Linked DNA regions of Homo sapiens: regions 2, 3 and 4 are each linked to region 1. The links are contacts of gene promoters, found by promoter capture Hi-C in human tissues and cell types (Jung and others, 2019). All regions are on one chromosome and are shown on one strand. The core of a region is centred on a gene start or on the middle of the fragment in contact, and the rest is flanking DNA. Distances in the headings are between cores, read along the strand shown. Region 1 holds the start of FRZB (frizzled related protein). Region 2 has its middle 70 kb from the start of FRZB. Region 3 overlaps NCKAP1 (NCK associated protein 1). Region 4 overlaps NCKAP1 (NCK associated protein 1).

Region 1 (2,700 bases), core at 30-2,529:
AAAAAGTCCAAGTGTATTAGAGCTGTTAGTTTCCACGTTAACCCTTAAGGAGCAAAGCTCAAGAGTTCTAATTCCACTAGGTGGGGGGGGCGGGAATAGAAGGAAAAAACCCCTTTTCCTTGCTTCTGGTGGCCTATTTGTAGTCATGAACAGCATTTCTTTGTTTCTCTCTCTCTTTTTTTTTTTTTTTAAAGGCAATCCTCCCCCCACCTCCTCCCCCGCAGTTATTGAAAATGGAGACCTCTGTAGTCACTAGCTCTGGGTTGATATGGCTCCACCGTTGCTCGCAGGGGTCTGTGTTTTCCGCTACTTGGACAAAGTGACATTGCTTAAGCCTTTCCCCCCACCAGGTCTGACTTTCTGCAGAGCCAGTGATTGCAGAGGAAAAGCTGTAGTTTGCTTAAAGGAAATACCTCCAGGAAGGAGGGTCTCGGGTGGGTTCCCAAGTGGGGAACTAGGGGGACTTTTCCGTAGGGAATTGGGGTGGGCTCTTCAGTGAGGGGCTAGGGGCTCGTTTCTGGGGCCAAAGACGGGTTCCCTAGTGTGAGGGCGCGCTCGACTCGGCGCTGTCTTGGGGTCTCGCACTCGCACGGCTTCGCACCCCACCGCCTGCGACTCCCAGGCCTTCTCTTCCCCGGGCGCCCACTCCATTCTCGGGAAGAGCAGCCGGCACTGGAGGGCAGAGACTGCCCCAGGGGCGGAGCTCCCTCTCAGGCGGGAGGTAGGAAAGTGCAGAGCCGCCCGGGCAGAGGCACAGACGTCCCTGCGGGGCTCCTCCTGAGCGTCCCTCCTGCCAGCCAGGGTCGCAGCCGCAGCGGCGGCCGCAGCTCTTAGCCCACACAGGACTTGTAAACTCTTACTGCACCCTTCTCTCCCATTAGGAGCTTTTCCTCCCTCCTTCCCCCCAACCCCTCTGTCCTCCTCACTTTGGGGAATTTAATGCTTTCTTTAGCATCTTTTTGTGTGCGTGATCTAGGGGAGGAGACACCCCAGAGCTCCAACTAGCTCTCAGCTGAATTCTACTTTTGTTTTTATGTCTTCCTCGCCTCCTCTCGTGTCCCTCTTATCTGACTGATCTGCGAAGTCTGATGCTTCTGCCAGAGGGAGAGGAATAAATAGATGTTGCTGCTTCCGAAGGCTTAGACGTTGGGAAAGAGCAGCCTGGGCGGCAGGGGCGGTGGCTGGAGCTCGGTAAAGCTCGTGGGACCCCATTGGGGGAATTTGATCCAAGGAAGCGGTGATTGCCGGGGGAGGAGAAGCTCCCAGATCCTTGTGTCCACTTGCAGCGGGGGAGGCGGAGACGGCGGAGCGGGCCTTTTGGCGTCCACTGCGCGGCTGCACCCTGCCCCATCCTGCCGGGATCATGGTCTGCGGCAGCCCGGGAGGGATGCTGCTGCTGCGGGCCGGGCTGCTTGCCCTGGCTGCTCTCTGCCTGCTCCGGGTGCCCGGGGCTCGGGCTGCAGCCTGTGAGCCCGTCCGCATCCCCCTGTGCAAGTCCCTGCCCTGGAACATGACTAAGATGCCCAACCACCTGCACCACAGCACTCAGGCCAACGCCATCCTGGCCATCGAGCAGTTCGAAGGTCTGCTGGGCACCCACTGCAGCCCCGATCTGCTCTTCTTCCTCTGTGCCATGTACGCGCCCATCTGCACCATTGACTTCCAGCACGAGCCCATCAAGCCCTGTAAGTCTGTGTGCGAGCGGGCCCGGCAGGGCTGTGAGCCCATACTCATCAAGTACCGCCACTCGTGGCCGGAGAACCTGGCCTGCGAGGAGCTGCCAGTGTACGACAGGGGCGTGTGCATCTCTCCCGAGGCCATCGTTACTGCGGACGGAGCTGGTGAGTTTTGACACGGCCCACCCTTCCCTTACCCTACAGCCTCCTCAATTCTTGGAGTCCTTGTTACTAGCCTTTACTCTCTAATTTTTTTCTCTTCGGATCACTTAATCTCTCCCATAACTGCTCCTCTATCAAAGACCCTTCTTCTTCTTTCTTCTTTTTTCAAAAACAAAAACAAAAAAACCCTCACCTTATCACCTTCCAAACTGATGCACTCTGGCACTGTGTTCCAATAGGCGATCTTTCTAAAACAATCCATGCATTCCAAACCCATCACACTTCTACTCCACAGGAATCCTTCACTTCAACTCCTTACATGTGCAAGTAGCCACATTTTGTAAAGTGATGCTCTTTTTCTTTTAAAATGTGTTTATAATCATTGGGTTTTCTTTGCTGATTCTCAGGCAATCTCAGTCATCAGGTTTCTGTATCTTTAGTGTCTTAGATGCTTGTTAAGATTGTGTGGAGGAAACAGAAAACTGAAGCCCCATTTTCTTCTAATTAAAAATGCCAAGATAATTTCAATAACCTTACTCTAACCGACAGATGTTAGGGGTATGTGTTTGCTCAAGATCCAGTTTGAGCAATTACCTTCACCTTAAATTTCCCCCTCCTTTCAATGAGATAAATTGTTCTTCCATTCCAGAATGAAACAATTGTGAAACATTGCTATGCACTGTTAATTAGCTTCTGTGGCTTGCCATAGAGCTGGCAGACTGAAATTACTGAGCTCTTTTCACATGCCCACATGCCTTCAAGTCATTTTATAAGTGGCATACAGATGAAAGGAGTTATATTTAAGGCGTGTTATCATACACTCACGTAATGTTATTTTAAATCTCACCCCTTATTCCACTCT
Region 2 (2,700 bases), core at 60-2,559, 70 kb after region 1:
TATAAATGAAATGACAAGGTATGTAGCTTTTTTCTTTCAGCATAACTACTTTGAGTCATCTATGTTGTTGCATGTATCAGTGTTTCATTTTTAAATTTTATCTATTTTATGTTATTTTATTTATCAGAGATGGGGTCTCTCTTGGTTGCCCAGGCTGGAGCGTAGTGGTGCGATCACAACTCACTGCAGCCTCAAACTCCTAGGCTCAAGTGATTCTTTCACCTCAGCTTCCAAAGTAGCTAGGACTACAGGTGCACACCATCACACCTGGCTAATTAAAACTTTTTGTTGTTTTTAGAGATGGGGTCTTGCTATGTTGCCCAGGCTTGTCTCAAACTCCTGGACTCAAGTGATCCTCCCACCTTAGTCTCTCAAAGTGCTAGGATTATATGTATGAGCCACTGTGCTCAGCCTCATTCATTTTTATTGAGAAGTATTATTTTGTGTGGATTATTTATCCATTCACCTGTTGATGGACATTTGGGTTGTTTCCATGGCTGTTACATATGAAACCATGAATAGTTACAAGCAAGTCTTTGTATAGACTTATGTACCTTCTAGGTAAATACCTATAAGGAAATGCCTGTATTATATGATAGGTGTATGTTTAACTTACACTGTTAAACTTCTAAAGTGGTTGTACAATTGTGTATTCCAATAGCGTTATATGAGAGTTCCAGATCTTCCGTTTTCTTTTTTCTTTTTTTTTTTTGAGAAGGAGTTTCACTCTTGTCACCCAGGCTGGAGTGCAGTGGCACGATCTTGGCTCACTGCAACCTCCACCTCCCAGGTTCAAGTGATTCTCTTGCCTCAGCCTCCCGAGTAGCTGAGATTACAGGAGCCTGCCACCACGCCCAGGTAATTTTTGTATTTTTAGTAGAGACAGCGTTTTGCCATGTTGGCCAGGCTGGTCTTGAACTCCTGACTTCAGGTGATCCACTCGCCTTGGCCTCCCAAAGTGCTGGGATTACAGGCATGAGCCACCATACCTGGCCAGATCTTCCATTTTCTAGCCAATATTTACAATGGCCTATCTTTAATTATAATGATTCTAGCAATTGTGTAGTAGTATCTTATTATGGTTGTAACTTGCATTTCCCTAATGACTAATTATCTTGAGCGTACTTTATGTGTTTATTGTCTGTACTTTCTTTGGTGGTGTCTTTTCAAAGATGTTTTTGATATTGATATTTTAAAATGTTTCTCAATTTAGGGTTCTCTGATGTTCCCTCTTTATTAGATTCAGGTTATACACACCCAGCTGGAATACCATAAAAGTAATATTTCCTTCTCAGGACATTATATCTGGAGATACACTTTATCCCTTTGCTCCCCATTGGTAATACGATCACCTGGTTGAGGTGTAATCATCCTTCTACTCTATAGTTACTCTTTTCCCCCTTGTAACTAATAAAGTCTGTGGAGAGACACTTTGAGACCACAGAAATGCTTCCGCTCCTTATTGAATTTCCCCAATTTAGCATCCTTTTTTTTTGGATTACTTTTTTTCTGAACCAATTTTTGCTAGTATCATCACAAAATGTTGATTTTTTAAAAAAAATAACTCCAGCACTCCTTCATTTATCAGTTTACATGGTGCTATAAGGAAGAGCCTTTGTTGGCTTCTCTGTCTTTCCTTCCCTCCCCTTTTATGCCCCCCTCCCTTTCTCATTCTATCATCAGTATGGCCTCAGGGACTCCTATTTTATTCAATGGGTTATAATTTATTACTGACCTTGTATTGATGTCTGAGATTTGGACAGAGGATGTCCCTTCAAGCTGCCTTGTGTGTCCTTATGACATAGGTATTTTAGTTTTTGAGTGGATCCTTACTTTCTGTCATAAAAAGATGTTGTAGCCCCACCTGTACCTTTTCTATGGCAGTCCTGAAATCAGTAATTTTTCCAACCAAGGAATGAAATTTAGAAGCTAAGATCTGGACATTACATGCTGAGGTTTTCTGCTGAGGTGTAATTGCTTTTAGACCTTTTAAGCAGATAGAGCTACAAAACGTATCTATCCAGTGGTGAGCTGGAAAAGTTTAACAACTAGGTCTGGGGGAAGGGGCCAGAAGACCTAATTTCTAGTATTTGCCAATTTCCATGGTGTAAGTACTGGCTGGTTTCAAGCTACTAATGTGAGGTCACTAAATGCAGATTTGGGAAAAGATGCATAATTGTGTCTAATGAGCCAATAGGACTAAGCTCCAGCATACCACCATGTCTACCCATCCATCCATGCACACACCTACCTTCCCTGTTGGCTTACGCCTCCAATTTCAATCCAACTCCACTTTCTTGACTTTATTCTTTCTGCATTTGAACTTCTTTTCCCCCATAATGAGAATCCCAGCTCTCAACAACATCAACATATTAACTCATTTGCTCAGTTCCATGGTATACAGGGAATTTAGGAACTGCTACACCCATATCATAATTAAAAAAAAAAACTACGAAAAAGAGTTCAAGATTTATTTGCATTTTCCCTAGACTGCACACATACAGTCAAATTAATTTTTCATAGTTCCATGGATGAGTTTCCCTTTTCCCTTCAGTTATGTTTCATTTGAAATAAAATTGAGTTCATTTCTATTTGTTTGCATTCAGTTTCAGAGCTTTTTTCGCATTTTTGTTGACTTTATTTTTTGAGTATGTAGAACATTAATGTGATTCCGATAGTACAAAAAGGTGTATTTGGATG
Region 3 (2,700 bases), core at 14-2,513, 130 kb before region 1:
ACAGGGGAATAATTTTGAAGTGTTTGTGTTTTTTCATTCTTACAGGTTTTGTTCTTGATTTATTAACCTTTAGAGAATAGAGTTGGCCCTTTATATCCTGGGGTTCTGCATCCAGAGATTCAGTCAACAGCCAATTAAAATACGGGAAAAAATTTCACAAAGGTCCAAAAAGCAAAACTTACTGCATAATGAGTATTACATTGAGTCCACGCAAATGAAGTGATGTGTAGGTATTGTATTAGGTATTACAAGTAATCTGGAGGTGATTTAAATTATGCAGGAGGAAGTGTGTAGGTTATATGTAAATACTACACCATTTTATATAAGGAACTTCAGCATCCACAGATTTTGGTATCTGTTGATGGTCCTGGAACCAATCCCCTACATTGAGAGATGACTGTATTTGTTGACTTTTTATTACAGTGTTTCTCAAACTATGGTGAAGGACTAGTTTTTCTTCTTTAATATTTTTTGGATTGATCCTTTAATAAAATAAAGAAAATGAATTACTAGAATTACCAGAAAAACAAAATAATAAAGACATAAAATACAAGCTCATAGTTTTTATTACTAGATTCAGTCTAACAGATTATTAAGTTTCTACTCCAAAATCACTGTGAAATATTTATGAAAATTTCTAAATACCCTGTTCCAATACTTAGTCTCATTATGGACTGATACTTTGAGTAGTGTGTTTTTAGTATGAAAGAGGGGAAATTTAACAATACTATCTGGCCGTAGCTATTTTTATTAATTATATTATTTTTTACATTGACCAGGTTTGTGATATTTATATTTTCTTCTATAAAGATAAGTGAAATTATCATGCTTTGTCTCATAGTTTATTTAGAAAAACAGCTTTCAGAGTTTTGATCTTGCTCGGTTGTGTGGTAATTATTAGTTGTTTTGTGCTTATGGATGTACAGATGAATAATTGAGTTAATTAGTAGAGTTAGCTGTCATTAGTGACTTCTGGATTTTGCTTCCCACTGGTCTTTATTTTAAACGGGAATGCTGATGGCATGAGTTTGTGTAATGAGCCGGTAAGTCGATCAGGAAGCAGGCTCCCCTAATGGGGAATATATGGGCATGGAGAAGGCAGATTTGGGATAACCACAGTTGCCAAAATAAGGAATGAATTTTGCTTCTTTCATGTATTTGAACCCTGAGTAGAGCTAATCTGGAGGTTAGGAGTTGCCTCAAATTCTGCACTTCTCTTTTTGGAACTACTACCCAGACTAGGATTTTTCTTCAATAGGTAGTCTACTTTCTTTGGACCTTTGTTCTGGATTAGTTCAAAGTGTGGTTCCTAGACCAGCAACATCAGCAACACCTAGGAACTTCTTAGATGTGCAGAATCTTGGTCCCTACCCAAGACCTACTAAACAGAAACTCTGCAGATGGATCTTAACAATCTGTTTAATGTACTTTCTCAGTGATTCTGGTGCAAGCTAAAGTTTAAGAATCACTGCTCTAGATTATAGCCCGATGCTAAGAGTTGTGCAGGACCTAGAATATTGAGGACCCAGCACTTGAAGTACAGATGTAAAATTAATTATCCTGATACGTATTTTAGGGTTCATTTTTGGGTCTGTTGATTGGACTTGGGAGACTCCTTAGGAAAGATTTTTTTTCCTATCTCCAGAGTTTTGGATTACTAATTTCTGCCTTGTTTTTTATATTGATAGTCCAATTTTATCTGTTTTCTGCCTTCAAAGATTTTCTTCAACTTTCTTGTCAAGACTTGGTCTTCTGTTTTAAGAGCTACTTTTAAATTTTTTTTTTTTTGTCCTTTCATCCTAATTTTGGTAAAGGAGATTGATGTGTAGTTTAATTAATAAGTCATCCCCCTAATCTTGGGCAATCTATTTTATTTTATTTTATTCTTTTGAGACTTGAGTCTTTTCTGTCACCCAGGCTGGAGTGCAGTGGCATGATCTCAGCTCACTGCACCCTCCACCTCCCAAGTTCAAGCGTTTCTCCTGCCTCACCCTCCCATATAGTTGGGATTATAGGTGCCCACCACCATGCTTGGCTAATTTTTGTATTTTTAGTAGAGATGGGGTTTTCACCATGTTGGCCAAACTGGTCTCAAACTCCTGACCTCAAGTGATCCATCTGTCTTGGCCTCCCATAGTGTTGGGATTACAGGTGTGAGCCATCATGCCCAGCCTGGGCAATCTATTTTAAATTCATTTGCCTTTTTTGGTCCAATTTAAACAAATAAATATACTTTAACTCATAACACGTATGTTAAAAACAAACACTTTTAACTTGTAAGTGATAAAAATTTTCAGAGAAACTTTGTATTAGTAGTAGCAAGTATTTTGTAAGTGTTAACGTACAAAGGTGTAAGACACTAAGTGAAATCTGATTTCACTTGATATTAGGGTGGAAAGTCAAGTACATAAGAGGATAATGTTTTATAAACAAAATTTCTCTTGAGGGCTCTTTAATCTTTCATACATGTATTCTGTTTCTTTGATTGTGTGCCAGATTGAATAATTGGCTTGTTTTAGGGGCCCTGTTGTATGAAAAATATTTTTGTATAGTTCAAGTCAAAGAAGTTAAATATGTGTGTATGATTCTACAAAATATGCCTACTTAGAGAGTTAGCTTGCTTCTCTAGTGACCCAAGAAGGAAGCTTGAGCTAAGAATCAAAAGATAAATGGCAAGTTTTATGTTAAAGTGTCAAGATA
Region 4 (2,700 bases), core at 47-2,546, 110 kb before region 1:
TATATTCTCTAGGGAGCTTATTTTTAGAAATGAAGACTTTTATAAATAAAAGCATTAAATACCTTACCAGTTAGTGGGAGATCAGGGAAGTACACTTGAAATACCAACATCCCAAAATGTTAAATGTGTATATATTATAGGTTATTTTCTTATTACAAATAAAGTTTTAAAATTGACACCTCTTTGTTTTTAAAAAGGCAATGAAACAATACAAAAGTAGAACTTGTAAAAAAAAGAAGTGGAATTTCCTCTGCCAAAGGATATACATGTTTAAAACTTTGAAAGTCATTGTCATAAAGCTTGAACTGCTTCAATCTCCTGTTCTGGGTTTATAGGAGTGCCTAAACCAATACTTGGGCTCAGAGAATTTTAGAGATTTAGATGCATTTCAGATGCACCCTTACATTTGAGTTATTCATGTGAGAATTTTAGCCTTTTTCAGTCACTGCAAAATAAAAAGCATTGAGTGAACATGAAGAATGTAGACCTGATTATTCCTATGTGTAGATTTTTAAAGTTTTTTAAGATTTTTATAAGAGCATTATTAGCTAGCTATCTGATTTTTTTTTCATGTAATCTATACCTACTTGTGTTAGTTTCCTAGGGCTGCCATAACAAAGTACCAACTAGATGGCTTAAACAATAGAAATGTATTATTTCATAGTTCTGAAGGCTGGCAGTCTGAAAGCAAGGTGTTGGCAGGGTTGGTTTGTTTCAAGGACTGCAAGGGAGAACCTCTTCCATCTCTCTCTCCTAGCTTCTGGTGATTTGCTGGTAATCTTTGTTGTTCCTTGCTTGTAGTTGCATTACTCTAAAGGCATTCTCCCTGTGTTTCTTCACTTCATTTTTCCTCTTTGCATATTTCATGTTCAAATTTTCCCTTTTTATAGGGCTACCAGTTATATTTGATTAGGTCCCATTCAAATGACCTCATTTTTATGTGCTTAGCTCTGGAAAGACCCTAATTCCAAATAAGGTCACATTCTGAGGTACTGGGGGTTAGGATTTAGGCACATCTTTTCTTCGGGGATACAATTCAATGCATAACATTGCTGTTAACCACGTTTAGAACATGCAGTCACTCAGACCCTTTCTACTGCATACAGACCCTTTTTTTTTTTTTTTTTTTTTTAGTGACAACAGGACAATGCATACAAAGGAAGGAAAGAATGGGACATAACACTAAGCCAGAGAAGTGTTCACTAGAAGTAGAGAACAAAAGTGCAAGGTAGCAGGCAGGGTCCAGAATCTAGAAGGTTTACATAGGTATTGAAAAGCAGCTCAAAGGTGAAAGTTCCAAGCCTACAGATTAGACTGTAGGATACAGAAGATAAAATACTGAGCAGTATTATATAATCTGTAGAAAAATAGCACATTCATCTTTTGAGGATTTTATAATCTAGCTATGGAGACAAAGCATAAAAAATGTAAAAAATAGCAGCTGAAAATCTGAAAGATTAAGAGATGTCATAGACAGAATATGTTTATCAGTTAATTTCAGTCTTAGAAGGGATAAAGCATTTTTCAAGTTAAAATTGCTTTGAATAGGAAAAAGGAAAGGACAAACAATGAGTAAAGAGCAAGTAAAGAGACTTTTGAGTATAAAGGATTACTGTAAGAAGGGGAAAATATTCACAAGAACTATGAATGATCTGCCTTTGATCACTGACCTTTGGTTTCAGGTAGAAGTGCAAGAATTGTTAGGTAAAAGCACATGGCCAGAGAGTGGTGAAGAGTTCTATAGATAGCCAGTAGTGGTTGAGTAGAGCAGACCAGAAGAGTAAGCCTTTGGGAGAATTTTAGTAGTGTACTTTGTGCCTTCACTGGTGTCCTATTTAGTTTGGTTCTAAGGTCATTGCTTTTTTATAGGTCACTTTCATCTTTCTCTGTCCTTTTCCTACTCTTAAGAATTCTCTTTGTATTTTTGTCATTCTTTTCTACTTCCTAAGTGATCTCATTCTGTTGTGTATTCCATCAGTCCCTTAAGCATTTTTAGTTGCTCTTTCAAATATCTTCTCTCGTCTGTCTTCTAATTTATTCAAATTGTTTATATTCTTTTACTTAAACCTATTCTTTTTTAGTAACATGTTTCTCCCCCCATTGTTGTCAAGCAGTTAAATCATTATCTTGTTTTGTTACCATCCATTTCTTCTGAATTTGTTTTCACAATGTTATTTAAATTCTGATTTAATTTTTTTAATTTTAAATTTTTATGAATACATAATAGTTGTACATATTTATGGGGGTACATGTGATATTTTGATACAAGCATACAGTGTATAATGAACAAATCTGGGTAGTGGGAATATTTCATCACCTCAAACACATATCATCATATTGGAAACATTCCAAATCTACTCTTCTGGTTATTTTGAAAGATGCAGAAAATTATTAACTATAGTTGCCCCATTGTGCTATACTAGTTCTTATTCCTCCTAACTGTACTTTTGTACCCATTAACCAATCCTTCTTTATTCCCACTTCCTACCTTCCCTACTCAGCTTCTTATAACCATCATACTATTCTCTGCGTCCATGAGATCAATTTATTTAGCATCCACTTAGGAGTAAGAACATGTGACATTTGTTTTTCTGTGCCTGGCTTATTTCACTTAACATAATTTCTTCCAGTTCCGTCTATGTTGTTGCAACAGACAGGATTTCATTTTTTATGGCATAATAATATTCCATTGTGTATATA

What was found. The method cuts DNA at HindIII sites, captures the fragments that hold promoters and counts their contacts. A contact is called where the count stands out against the background at its distance.
Region 2: a contact is called between a fragment that was not itself captured here and the fragment with the promoter of FRZB in region 1, in 2 of the 25 tissues and cell types used here (mesenchymal stem cells and neural progenitor cells).
Region 3: a contact is called between a fragment that was not itself captured here and the fragment with the promoter of FRZB in region 1, in 2 of the 25 tissues and cell types used here (heart left ventricle and mesendoderm cells).
Region 4: a fragment that was not itself captured here is called in contact with the fragment with the promoter of FRZB in region 1 in 2 of the 25 tissues and cell types used here (mesenchymal stem cells and neural progenitor cells).

Annotation. Positions count from the first base shown.
Region 1 is chr2:182,865,216-182,867,915 of GRCh38, reverse strand. It overlaps FRZB (frizzled related protein), which reads left to right and starts at 1,279. Exons shown (of 6, transcript NM_001463.4): 1 at 1,279-1,841. The coding sequence starts at 1,364. RefSeq lists an enhancer at 1,148-2,116. The HindIII fragment of the contact is 7,330 bases long and covers 1-2,700 here.
Region 2 is chr2:182,795,705-182,798,404 of GRCh38, reverse strand. No RefSeq gene overlaps it. Among named protein-coding and RNA genes, the nearest start is that of FRZB, 70 kb to the left of the region's middle. The HindIII fragment of the contact is 5,379 bases long and covers 1-2,700 here.
Region 3 is chr2:182,990,749-182,993,448 of GRCh38, reverse strand. All of the region lies in intron 8 of NCKAP1 (NCK associated protein 1), which reads left to right. Among named protein-coding and RNA genes, the nearest start is that of NCKAP1, 46 kb to the left of the region's middle. The HindIII fragment of the contact is 4,014 bases long and covers 1-2,700 here.
Region 4 is chr2:182,972,692-182,975,391 of GRCh38, reverse strand. The region is part of intron 15 of NCKAP1 (NCK associated protein 1); the gene reads left to right. Among named protein-coding and RNA genes, the nearest start is that of NCKAP1, 64 kb to the left of the region's middle. The HindIII fragment of the contact is 7,019 bases long and covers 1-2,700 here.